Regions from separate parts of the Homo sapiens genome. Here all the other regions are linked to region 2. The links are contacts of gene promoters, found by promoter capture Hi-C in blood cells and fetal thymus (Javierre and others, 2016). All regions are on one chromosome and are shown on one strand. The core of a region is centred on a gene start or on the middle of the fragment in contact, and the rest is flanking DNA. Distances in the headings are between cores, read along the strand shown.

Region 1 (3,180 bases), core at 68-2,567, 1.1 Mb after region 2:
GTTGGGAAAACAGAAATCACATACTTTACATTTTAGAACACCTGGAATCCATTGGGCTCTTAGAGTTTTGGAGTTGTAATTTAGAAGCAGATAAAGCAAAGGACTATCCATGGCTGAACAGTCGGCATTGTGAGTGAGAATGGCCTGAGGTGGCGCCAGAGAGTCTGGTCTGCGTAGCAAGTTTGAAGCAGGCTGGGGTCTCCTGGAGATGGGCCTCTGTTAGGGCAGAGGCTGGGGGGCAGGAGGGTGGGAAATGATACTAAAGGGGTATGCCACCAGCTTGGGTGGAAGCTGGTAAAATGAGAACGCTGTTGTGTTTCCCACCTGGTGTTTTAAAGCATACCCAAGGTACACACAGTGCTTGGTCCTCTAGAATGCCATTTGGAGCCGTTCTCCTGTAATGCCTGCCATTGTAGGGACCAGACAGATTTGGGACACCTAGGAGTGGTAGTCTGGCCTGAGGAGCTTGCTATCATAAGCCATTGAGGACAATTCTAAGAAGGGTGTAGTATTTGACATATTAAAAAGATCCATATGTTTTCTAAAAGATGTAAGAGGAAGCAGCTTGGGAGGAAAGAATGACAGGAAACTTTTTTTGCAAAGAGTGCCTGTTTATGTTCATGCATATCATGGAATGGGATATATAGGTAGTATCAATTTTTACATATTGTGTGGGTTTCAAAAGCCACATTTGTATTTTGAAAAAGAGGTATTTTTAAAATGCTGATATAGATGATGCTGTGCACCTTTATATATTGGTATCTTTGTTAGGAAGAGGAAAGTTATTTTATTAAGTAAAATTGCTGCTTTTAGAGAGTATCTGCTCTTATTTTTAGTTTTTCTTGGTCATGTTTGAGGGGTCTGATAGCATTAATGGGCTTTACCCCACATGGAGCTTTGAGCTTATTGTAGCACTGCACACTGATCCCAGGTCAGTGTGATGCGTGAAATCAATTTATTTGAATCTCTTTGCCTCTATAGGAATTTGGCAGCATGCCAGTTGTTTTCATTTAATGTTCTTTGTGTTGAACACAGACAAGCAGGCATGCTTTTGTATTCTTCTCTCTTTTGGTCTCTGTCTCTTTCAGCCAATATTTTACTGTATGGATTTTGAGATGAAAGAAGAGTATATCATTTATATGATTCTAATCATTGTTTAATTATATATATGTATATAAATATACCACTTTCTTATCTTTTAAAGGATATGTTTGATATTCCTGAGTTTGGTGACTTTGCACACACAAAATATTTTAGAGTTTTGTTTAAATAAAATTTTTGGTGAAACATAATAAACCAGATCATAGATGGTATTTGCTTACATTAATTACCACTATCAAAATTTAAAATAACAATGTTAATTATGTAACACAACAAATGTTTAATTTGTAAACTGGACTATCAAAATCATTTATTTCTTGGTGAGCCTTCTTTGAATTTGAAGATTTACACTTTAATCAAGCATGTTAAAAATTATAATTATTTGAGTACAATTTTCTTTGATCCATCTTGATTAAGATACCAGCGTTTTACACAGATTTGCTGTATATGAATTTTTATGAAGTTTCTGCCATTAAGGTACTTTTTTGTTTTTTAAAATTTGGAGGGTAATGACTGGGAATAGCATAGAGATTTTTATGACAAATAAAATCAGACCTTTCTCTGGATGTTTTTATAGGCAGGACTTGTTTCTGGGTCAGCTTTAGGAAGAGGTGGAGAAGGAAATGAGAGAGAGTGAGAGGAGAATGTTCTGTTGATGCTCCGGGCAGTTCTTGCGGAAGTTGATATGCAGAACCATGGAGCCGCAGCTTCGGGGTCAGGCTCATACCCAGCAGCCCTGCTTCCTTGTTTAATTACCTGAAGAGCAAAACAGTCAGGCTGGGAGTGTGTGAAAACCCAGTATCTCTCACAGCCGCCTGGCGCTCTGACATCCTGCAAGGCCAGCCCTGTCTGTCCGCCAGCGTCAGGCTGGCTCAAACCCTGGGTTCCTTTCTTTCGGGAGGCATTGTGTGGAAGAGGGTTTGGTCAGGAATTTGAGGTTCCTGCCAATGCTGTGTCCCCTGCTCTCCCCTTGTGGACCACACTGACAGACATGCTTGATTAAAAAAAAAAAAGATCTAAGAATTTGGCTCTATTTTACACTTCTGGCCTTGCTATGAAACAATCTGTTTCAGCAGCAACAGACGTTAACCAGTAGAGGGCTGGCCTTAGTTTGTTGGGTTCTTATTTTCTGAGTTCCCATTATATAGTGTCCTATGTGTGTTGCTCTTTTCCAGTCAGACTCATTAGTAGTCTGGTGTGGAGCTAGTAGCTCAGAGATTGCTTTTATGAGGCGGTTTTGGAATCTTCATCTGCCCATGAAAATAGAATAGTCCACTTTTAAAAAAAGGTGATAGAACTTTTGCACTTGAATGTTTTTTCCTTTTCTTGGAATTGGAATATGGTCTTTGACATTTGCTGTGGGAAGGGCCATACTCTTTGACGAAGCTGGAGGTGGTGAGAAATAATATTTGCACAGTAATGTGTGGCCAATTTGAGGGTAACATGGGATAAATATTCTGAGAAGTGCTTGGAGATGGAGCCATTTGGGAGATCCCATGAATATAAGAGGATTTTATCTTACCAAGAGGAAATCTGTCCACACAGTGGGCTGATGAAATGTCTTTGCTGTGGGTTGGGAAACAAAGGTGGTGGTGGTGGTGTTTCCTGCAAAGGCAGGGGAAAGTGTGACTACATGTGCAGTGATTTGGTTTTTCCAACTACTTCATTAGGATTCTGTCATGCAGACTGAAGGGCATTTACCCTTTAGATGCACATATGTGCCTCCCATTAATGTTAATAGGAGTTATGGGCATGTAAAGAGAGCAGTATATACCTTTGCCTAGTGCATAAGCACAGCTCCAAGGAATTGATTCTGTCCTTTGCAAAGAATAGAGATTGGGCTTTGCAGGGAAGATTTTGGTGGGAATTATTTTAAAAACTTGTTTTGCATATCACATGGAAGTAATGTCAATATTTTATATATTTGTTTACCACTCCAGTAAAACATATATAATAATTTAAATAATTGCATTAGCCTGGTGCGCCTTGTGATGGAGCTGGCATCATCGTGATCTATTATGCACAGCGTAAGTAGCTCTGCCATAAGTGTTATGTGTATCCTCAGGCATGTGCGTGTTT
Region 2 (3,155 bases), core at 250-2,749:
TGCAAGCACTGGTGCAAGCATTCTGGGTTGGAATCCAGATGTCATCTACTAGCTAGTTTGGATTAGATACTAACTTTTTTAAACCTCAGCTGTCTCATTAGCAATTTGGGGATCATCATAGCACCTAAATGAAGGGATTATCCTGAGGATTTAAATGAATAATGTGTATAACTCATTTAGCACTGTGTCTGCATAGTAAACTCTGACAGATTAGATATTATTATTATTATCAGTATTAACCTTTCACTTTTTAAAATTTCTTCTTACATTCTCTTTCTCCCTAATTTATTTAGAATAGAGCATCATCTATTTTGATTCTCATCTATCCACTTTCCCTATTCTCACCCTCCTTTCCATCATGCTACAGACCAAAGTAGATGGTGGCAGAGTGCCTGGGTACGTTTATGATTTCCAAGAGTGCTCTTAAAAGCTAACATGCAAATTGAAGAGAGGTAATAGCTTGATCTAAAATGAGAAAGACTTGTGTTCTCACATATTAGACAAAAGCCTTAAAACTTCTCTAGTATCTAGCAAAATAGTCTGTATTTAGATCTGGTATTAAATAAAATATTTTTGACCAGGATGGTGAGAAAAAGTCTGTTCACTTCACATACAGGTCTAGCATACAATGTAATTACAAATAACCTCCCACAGGAGTGGCTGCAAAGGTGGCTCTGTGCAATTAATGGTAATGCTGTGTGTCATTTATTACCTGTGTTATTTAATCTTTAGTCTTCAATTTGTGAACTTCCTTTAGTTATGAAATTTCATGACTAAATAAAAAGAGCTTTGGTGAGGTGGGCATACCAATTTAAAAGTTCTTTTTGTATTATCAGTTTATTGAGTTATATACATAGAATTACACCGATAAATGAGTACACTAACATATTACAGAGTGATAAAGACTAAAAGAACACATTTACATAAAGTTCCTAGCACAAAGTAGGTCCTCAAAAAATGATGAATTCTTCTGAGATCAGATGAGAGTGTTGACCTGGAGGTATAAACTGAGAAAGGAAAGGAAGAAACATCAGGAACCTACTTCTTAACTCCTTAGAATATCCTATTTCCTGACCCAGAGGTGGAGAATGGCCTCAAGCTGGAGACAAAAAAGACCCTGATGTTGGGCTGTGGACCAAATATCCCACTTTACTCAAGATACCATTTCCAAGTCACATACTGTGGTAATTAACGCTATGTTAGTGACACTTCTGTAATGGGTTACAGATTGTTGCTGTGGTGTATACAAAGCTTATTGGATAAATGTCTTTAGGAAAGGAAAAGACATTAGTCTCTTAGTGATCAATAGGATAATAAATTGTGCTTTGTTTCTTTACCTGGATTTCATGTTTATCTTTAGAATAAATGTTAGCTTGCTCACTGCTTCTGTGGTTTCGAGGCTTGCAGTGTTGTGAAACACATAATCTTTTTCTTCACAGTTAGCAAATCCTTAGCTTCTCTGCTGGACAAATAGTCATGTGAGTAGAGAGAACATAAAATCAAAGCAACAAGAAGCTAGGGCAGAGGATTTAGAGGGCAAGCAAGCATGGGCCAGGACTTTGACAGCATTCATCCAGCAGCATGCGAACTCCAAAGAGAACCCGATCTCCAAAGACAAGTAAGTATCCATTTTCTACCCACCAAAAACACCCACATTTTCCCCTCCAAGATGCTCAGGACTCTGTGACTTATTTTGGAGGAATTGTCCCTTTATCACATTGTCAATATTCATAAAATGGCAGGTTTCTGACTACCCAGTACTTAAGAGCAAATACAAGTAACTTTTTAAAATAATAGCAACTTAACTATGTTATCCATTCAGCTCTAGTTCAGATGTAATCAGGACTTAAGATTCTGTAAGAGCCCATGTGGAAATGTTTGTCATTAGCAAGGGTATAAAAGGAAGAGAGGAGAGTTTTGTTGTTTCTTTTCCTCTTTGCCTTCTTTTATCAGAGTAATTGAAACAATCAGCTTCCTGACATCCTAAAAGATAATGATTCAGCCATAAAGAATGGGAAGAGAGGGCGGGGTGCAGTAGGTCACGCCTGTAATCCTAGCACTTTGGGAGGCTGAGGCGGGCGGATCACGAGGTCAGGAGATCGAGACCATCCTGGCTAACACGGTGAAACCCTGTCTCTACTAAAAGTACAAAAAATTAGCTGGGCGTGGTGGCGGGCGCCTGTAGTCCCAGCTACTCGGGACGCTGAGGCAGGAGAATGGTGTGAACCTGGGAGACGGAGCTTGCAGTGAGACGAGATTGCACCACCGCACTCCAGCCTGGGCGACAGGGCAAGACTCCATCTCCAAAAAAAAAAAAAAAAAAAAAATGAAAGAAGGAATGGGAAAAGAGAATGTAAAATACACCTTTATAGCTTTTTCTTTTGATTTTCCTCTCTACTGACCCATTCTGAAAGAAGGAGTTATCTATTACATTCTTTGCCCCACTTTGGTTAGCTGGCAGAAATAGAGAGATTTCTCTCCTTTTCCCTTTTGCCCCCTAGTAAATAAAATCTGTCCAACATTGATTGTAAATGTAGACAATCATCAACAGATTCTTTGAAATCAAAGTTAAAATTAAACATACTCAAGTGTAGCCAGTAGTCCTTCCAGACGAGAATGTAACATGGAGGCATGGACATTATTTAACAAATATTTATGATCTTCCTACTGTGTGCCAGGCACTCTGCTAGCATCTTGAATCAGAATGGAGGTATTCAGAAGGAACAATTTCAAACCAAAGAGGAGGACCAATTGCAAGATGATTTTAATTTTCCTCACAAATGTTATAAAGAGTATGTCTTTTTTAGTAACCTTCCACACAAATGGGTGTGTTGATGAACAAATGCAGATAAGATGTGCATGGCTTTCACTGAGTTGCATTTATATGCCTCATTATTTCTACATAAATATGCCCAGCCTGGCTTTTGTTCACTGCCATTTAGAGTGATGGTGATTAAAGTAAATACAAAAGTACAAATAAGAATGCTTTAAAACAATGGTGTAATCATTACTAATTCATTTTATATTTATTGTAGTATTAGCTCTAATGAACCTTCTTGATATTAATGTGGGTGTTATAAGTACTCTAAATTTTTTACTGTGTCAGTATTAATTAAATGAATGGTTATTATTACCTGTGTAATGGGCCTAGGAGG
Region 3 (3,123 bases), core at 175-2,674, 1.1 Mb after region 2:
TTTCCATAGGTGAAAATCCTGGTAATAAAAAGGGGTTCACACAAAACAAAATTTATTTTAAAATAACCTGTTTAAATACATGTATTGAAAATCAGATAGTTATTCCTTACATTCTCTAATACTACAATTTTTAACTTACTGCCGGACTGTTGTAACAAAGTTAACACTGTTCTTGCATACTGAGCATTCCGAGATTTATTTTACCTTTAATATACCTGCAAATGTAAGTTTAAACTAATCAGGGATATTTTACTAACAGGGCTTTCAGAATAATCTTTTCCATGCTTAAATAAAATGATTAAATTATGCTTGAGTGCCTGCATACAAAAGCTTTAGCTTCTATAGTACTGCTAATCAAATAAGTTTTATGGACAGGGAAAGCACCACATAGAGAAAAATTGGATGCATTTTACTAGTGACATTGCTAGGAAAGACATGTTCTTTTAAAATTATCTAATTTTAATTAAAAAGGAAACTCTTAAGATGTCTTAAATAATCATAATAAAAATAATACTGCGTCCTTATAACAAGAAAGTGAATGGCAACGCTATCCATATAAAACATGGGCAGAGAGAATTAAACTAGAAGGAAGGAAGACTGGTGAAATTTGGATGAGGTTCAATACTGACTCAACCTTGGATTGCAGTTTGGTGGGCTTGTGGCTATAGTAATTTGTCTGGGGTGAGACCTGATCACTGCTGAGGATCAATTAGCTGAGTTTGTGGCTTCACATGTGAATTGCTAGACACACTCTTCACAGATAAACTCAAAATATTTCAGGAATGTATAAAGGGGAAGGCAGGCACAGTGACACCTTAGCATGTTTGATATTAACAAATGCAGTGTTTCTTCTAAAACACCAACTCAAAAGAAGAGGTAGTTTGAAGAACAATGTTGAATGTGAGTATTTGCGATTACATGTATGGAACCAACCAAAGAAGTATGCTTTTAAGGAATGCAGTTTCCAGTTTCAAGCCCAAAGAACAGTTCAGTATGGCATGTCATGCTGGCATATCTTAAAGAGAGCTGGGCATCATGCGGCTATTTCCTCCAATATAGCACCAGTTTCTGACACTTTTAAGAAAAGATGCTGAATCACATATCAGTGTACAAAAAGTTTATTCACAGACATAATCCCTTCACTTGGGATGTGATCTTCTAATGAGAGTTGTTTTTGAAGCCACGGTACCTTACATGACACCAACAGGGGAGATTCCTGTGCCTCTTTTTGAAATGTTGATACTTGATGAAATCATGTCCAGGCTCTTACATCAGAACTACTGGTAAAGTAATGTCCCATGGTTGATGTTTAAAGTGTAAGACCTGCTTGTTTGAAAGAGCTTAAAACTGTCAATGTTGCCTACAACTACTAATATTTTCAAGGACCAAGAGATACCAACTTAAAATCATCTCCTTTAATAGTTCTAATTGTGATTACCTTTATAAAGTAATTCATGAAGGAATAAAGCAGGCATTTGTTTTGGTCGGTTTCATATCGATCAAGGCCTCTAAAGCAAATCACTATTTGGATGAATAGGGCCTTTAGAATATAGATCTTGTAGAAGAGGAATGCAGAGGGCACAAATGTGAAGTTTTCCCGTTGTGTCTCCAGCAATCTAAGCACCTCTAAGTGCCTTGGGGAATGTGATTGACTGGGTTCATTAATCTTTTAACACCTGGGGCACAGACCACTTCTAAGTGTGCTCAGGGCTCTTGAGGGCTGCTACTTAGTTGTTGGTCTTGGGAGAGAGGAGAGGAATTGATAAATACTAGAGACCTACTATGAGCCTGTCCTTCACCAACCTTCACATACATTCTCATCACTGATTTTAAGTAATTGATTAACCAGTGTTTCACTTTCTTCATTTCAAAGAACTCCAGCCCATTGCTCTGAGACTCTTGCCATAGTTACTCTTCTGGCTTGATCTTTTGCCCCAATTTAGAAAATTGAGGTTTCTTCGTATTCCCCAAATTAATGACTTACTTTGTGCCTGAGCTTTAGTAATTATTTAGGACCTTATTCTCTGAAAAATTGGCTGCATATTCTCTTCAGTGGCCATTTCTACTCATCCATTGTTTTCTTTCAGTTATCCCCTCTTCACCCCCACTTAGGAATCAGAGTTGGCTTCTAGCTGACATATCCTTGGATACTCACAAGTGTGTGCTAGTCTATATTCCTCAGTACCACCTGATCCAGGCTTCTCTATTACCAAATTCTGTTCCTGCATCAGAATACCTTCATTCTACACTGCACTGAGGCCATGAGGATTTAATCTGTTTTTGTTGTTGTTGTTGTTGAACTTATCCAGTATGCTGGAGTGATTTTCTGCCCAGTCCTTAGTTCTTGAGTCTTGTTCCTTTCGTAGTTGGTCACTCCATTATATCTTGATCTCAGCATTTCCCAGTTGGCCAGGTTCAACTTCCTGGTTACCTCTTAAGATAAGGTTAGAGGACTTGTACACCACCTTTACTGCTGGAAAAAAAGAGTTTGTAACTAGTTTCATAGTGTAAAGCTTTCTCCGTATTAGAAAAAAAAAAAAAAGGACCTGGTGTCTGTGTGCAGTCGCTTGACTAATAGGCAAACTGAAGTTCCCTTTCCAGTTCAATCACTGACTTGCTGGGTGGCCTGGGGTGCATTCCAGCCCTCAGGCAAATTTCTCAGAAGGCGAAGGGCAGACTTGGTGATTCTTAGGCTTCCCAACTCTCATACGGACAAGTCTCTGTGTGATACTGAAAGTAGGCTTTGGGGCTTTCCCAGGGTTAGGAGAGTGAAAAAAAAATGCTTTTTTTTTTTTTTTTTTTTTTTTAAATTCAGGGATTGGGGTGGGTGACACTATAAATCTTCATCTAACTGGGAAAGGGATCAGTGTGGAATATTACTATCATTCCAGTCTTCTCCATCATAAAGAAGAGCCATTATGGACTAGGGAGCCATTCTTTCCATAGCTATCCTAAATCTTAGATGATTATCTGAAATTTTTGTTTTTACGATTCCTTTTTCAGAGGTGAATGATGTAGGAATAAATCTGTTTATGTAGTGAGGAGGGAACTAAAGAGTCTGGGTCTTGTCCAAGGAAAATTGCCTTTATGCTTTCGCCTCATAGTTACTGGACAAGATGATGA
Region 4 (3,542 bases), core at 19-2,518, 1.2 Mb after region 2:
GAATCTGTGAAGTTTGGCCCAAACTGGAAATGCCACCTGTGTAGACTCTGAATAAAACATAGGGACCTCACAGCATGGGTCCTGTCAAAGCCTTCACAATCTCATCAGACCAGTTGATTCCCAGAAAAATTTGGAGCTCTCAGAGCATGAGCTATGATGCTATGTTACATATATATATATATATAGTTATACAATATACAATATGTACAATTATATATATATATTTTATAAATATATATATATATGCCAGCTGTTTGATTCCGTAGATGTTCATGGTATAGTAGACAGGGCACTGGGCTAGGATTGACCTTTGGTTGCTCACCTCTTGAAGCTTTGGTTTTCTCATCTGCAAAATTTGGGATAACGTTTCTGTGATCTGCCTGCTTTGCAAGGTGGTGGAGAGGTGCCAATGAGATGAGGAGAAGTATTTTATTAAAAGAAAAGTCACCTTACAAATGAGCAGTGTGTCTATGTAAGAACGAAAGAGGAAAACGGAGAAGAAAAACAGTTAAGAAATGATCCTAACAGGAAGGGTGGCGAGAGAATTAGAGTAGTGACTATGCGATTGAAAAGGAGAGAGACCACAGAAGTAGTCTGTGGGGTTTGGCACTGAATGGTTCCAGGGGCTAAAGAAAGAGGGGTTTGCAATAAAGTGACAAAGTCTTGGGCATGAGTGTTGCCAAAGACTGAAATGGACCCACCAGAGTTGGGTTTAGGGAATACTGACTTAGAGGAGCATCCTGGTGGAGGTACCTACAGAACAGGCAGTTGAAATAGGAGCACAAAGCTCAGGAAGAAGATAACAAGGAGAAACAGGTTTGAGAGTAATTTGCTTACAGCTGATCATTGAAACCACAAGATCTCACAAGGGGCAGCATGAGAAGGAAAAGATATTCCTTTTCTTTATGCCAGCATCCCTCCCTCCCTCACTGTCAACTACAGGGAAAAGAACAAACAGCAGAAGAAGTTATTGTATAAGAAAGAGAATTTTAGTAGGGGAAATTTCAACAAGAGGCATTTAATAAGGAAGAACGGGGAAGTAATCAGCAATGGTAAATCTTCAGAAATTTTGAGGACAGCAAATGAAGTTGCGGAAGAAATTATTAGTCACTAATGAAGTATGAGGAGAAGTAAGTTAATGTTCTTCTCCTGTAGCTGTCAGTGCCCATGGGTGATAGCACTTAATTTGAATGGGACCATCAGCCTTCTAATTCTAAAGGTTGTAAGGTGCTGGATCTGGAGCAAGGACTGTATCTACTCTCTCTTTCTTCCAGTCAGTACCAAAAGGAGGGAGTGGTGGTAGTACCTGCCATTTATTCAGGACCTATGAACATCATGCACTGTGCTTAGCACTGACATAACCCTGAATAATCCTGCAGTTATTATTCCTGCTTTACATGTTCTGTTGCTCCAAGGGTTAAGTAAGTGGCTTGTGGTTCTAAAGCCACAAAGTGATGAAGTTGGAAATGAAATGAAGTTGGCCTGGCTTTTGAAGCCTGTGCCATTTTCATTACACACTCTGACACCTTGTCTTTGCTGCCTCTGACTTTATGGTTCAATTTCTGTCCATTTTTGGGAGTTAAGTGCCTGCTAACCTGTTCTTGCCACAATGAGAGCTAATAAAAGATCTGAAGTTGACAAAGTGTGGCATTTTAGAAAGAATATTTTTAATTTGTAATCCAAACATCTGGGTGAATCAAACTTTGGCTATGTAATTTTATATTTTTGTGACTTGGGGCAAGCCTTTTACTGTGAAAATTATTTATTTTGAGGGTCCCAGTTTCTGAAACTGCAATCATGTGAAAATGATTTTAAATTGTCAAGTGCAATGCAAGTAGATGATGATGCAATCTTAATGTGAATTTAAGTCAATGTGTTGCCTTCTGTAGGATTCTTAACATTTGAGGAGTTTCAATTACAATCATTCTATTATATTTAAATTTATTACACATCGATTTTGTGCAAGTTTTTCTGAAGAATTATAGATATGTAAGACCTGGAGAGACTTAAAGCAGTTCAGAGACAAAATAAAAGATATTTTGTCCTTCAGAAAAAGATTTTTCTGCAGTAAGAACCAGAAGGGATATATGCCTGTACGACAGAAAGATCATTCTCTAAATGTTTTTCTTAGGGACAAAGAGAAATGCTGATTTGAAACAAAGTGTCGAATACCTTCAGTATGCAGTGTTGGCATTCAAAAGCTTCAGTCCATTGATTCTGTATATAGCCTTGTATTTAGTATATTTAGCAAAGGGGAGGTTCGTGTTCAGCCACAAATTCTTCATCTGAGTCACAACCTAACTTTGGTCAATTGACTTATTCTTACTTTTCAGATAGGGAGGAAAATATTCTTTATGCCAAAAAGGGAATAACATTATCACAAATAAAGGAATACTATAAAGTGCCATGAGCTTTGGGAATGAAATTTGCTGTGATATGGATATCCGTGAGCTTTCTACACTATTATGGTAATTTCAGTGACATCACTCCTTAGAGGCCTGAAAGGGAAGCTCAGTCATTTAAAAATAAATAAATAAAACAATTATCAGGAAATAGTATCTTGAATATAAAATGCACAAACTGCAAAATGTAAAATTAGATTAAGCCATTGACTGCCTTTATCCCAGCCCTTGTGGATAGACACGTGGCTGTTAGACACAGTTTGCAATTTCCACCTTTGTGAACAGTAGAAAGCTTAGAATGATCCAAATTGGAGTACTCAAAAGATTCTGCACCTTCCGCTGTTTCCAGAATTGTGACTATTCAGGGGCTGAGTGCCACTGATCAGGCATCAGTCTTGCAGGTATGGATTAGCCAACAGTAAATTCACTAGAGCATCCAAGAGAAATATATTAATAGAAATTGCTCTTTCAGTTTTCTAATGAGCTTTTAAGAATGAATATGCGCATTGGAGCGTTTGTTAGTTGAACACTCACTAAAGTTCCCTACACATTCACTGCAATGCAATGTCAAGAGAAATAAAAATTTGCAGATTTTTTTTTAACCAGATCATTAAAATTGCTCTTTTTGTAACTTCCTACAGCTGAAGGTTGTTTTTTCTTTTGTCCCAGTGGTGGGTGGTAAATGAATAGTATCAAACAACTTGAGAATGAAACTAGAGGTAAAACTAGCCAGACCCCTTAACTCCTGGATCAGAACCAGACAATACTATGCAAGAAGGCTCAATTCCCAGCAGCTTCACGATCCAAAACATCTGTTTCTGTATTTGGCACAATTCCACTTTTTTATTTGTAAAATTGTTCCCATCTTTGAAAACACTTTAAAAAATAAAGAAGCCCCCATTCTGTCTCCCTTTCCACTTCCCAGCACATGCATCTGTAATTACCTGGTTTAGTCTGTGTGTTTAATCAGTTTAAATTGAGAATGTTGCATACATCTGATTTCAATCTGAAGGAGCCATTGAGTATTGGACAGTTACCACCCTGTGTCTGCCAAAACGTGCCTCTGCCAAAAAACGGATAGGACTCACACCAGGGTATTTCCTAAAGAAGCCACTTGACTCAGATTAGATGTTTAATTTC

The links. The method cuts DNA at HindIII sites, captures the fragments that hold promoters and counts their contacts. A CHiCAGO score of 5 or more calls a contact.
Region 1: a contact is called between a fragment that was not itself captured here and the fragment with the promoter of LINC02906 in region 2, in 1 of 17 cell types (M0 macrophages). The highest score is 5.8, in M0 macrophages.
Region 3: a contact is called between a fragment that was not itself captured here and the fragment with the promoter of LINC02906 in region 2, in 1 of 17 cell types (M2 macrophages). The highest score is 5.9, in M2 macrophages.
Region 4: a contact is called between a fragment that was not itself captured here and the fragment with the promoter of LINC02906 in region 2, in 1 of 17 cell types (M0 macrophages). The highest score is 5.2, in M0 macrophages.

The regions. Positions count from the first base shown.
Region 1 is chr8:92,070,433-92,073,612 of GRCh38, reverse strand. All of the region lies in intron 2 of RUNX1T1 (RUNX1 partner transcriptional co-repressor 1), which reads left to right. Among named protein-coding and RNA genes, the nearest start is that of RUNX1T1, 31 kb to the left of the region's middle. RefSeq lists an enhancer at 1,411-1,910. The HindIII fragment of the contact is 4,222 bases long and covers 1-3,180 here.
Region 2 is chr8:93,165,194-93,168,348 of GRCh38, reverse strand. LINC02906 (long intergenic non-protein coding RNA 2906) reads left to right here and starts at 1,499. Exons shown (of 3, transcript NR_161372.1): 1 at 1,499-1,618. LOC105375644 (a long non-coding RNA gene) reads right to left here. Exons shown (of 5, transcript XR_928417.1): 4 at 1,338-1,459. The HindIII fragment of the contact is 1,956 bases long and covers 1,254-3,155 here.
Region 3 is chr8:92,089,610-92,092,732 of GRCh38, reverse strand. The region is part of intron 1 of RUNX1T1 (RUNX1 partner transcriptional co-repressor 1); the gene reads left to right. Among named protein-coding and RNA genes, the nearest start is that of RUNX1T1, 12 kb to the left of the region's middle. The HindIII fragment of the contact is 2,183 bases long and covers 333-2,515 here.
Region 4 is chr8:91,962,807-91,966,348 of GRCh38, reverse strand. The region is part of intron 11 of RUNX1T1 (RUNX1 partner transcriptional co-repressor 1); the gene reads left to right. Among named protein-coding and RNA genes, the nearest start is that of RUNX1T1, 140 kb to the left of the region's middle. The HindIII fragment of the contact is 1,870 bases long and covers 334-2,203 here.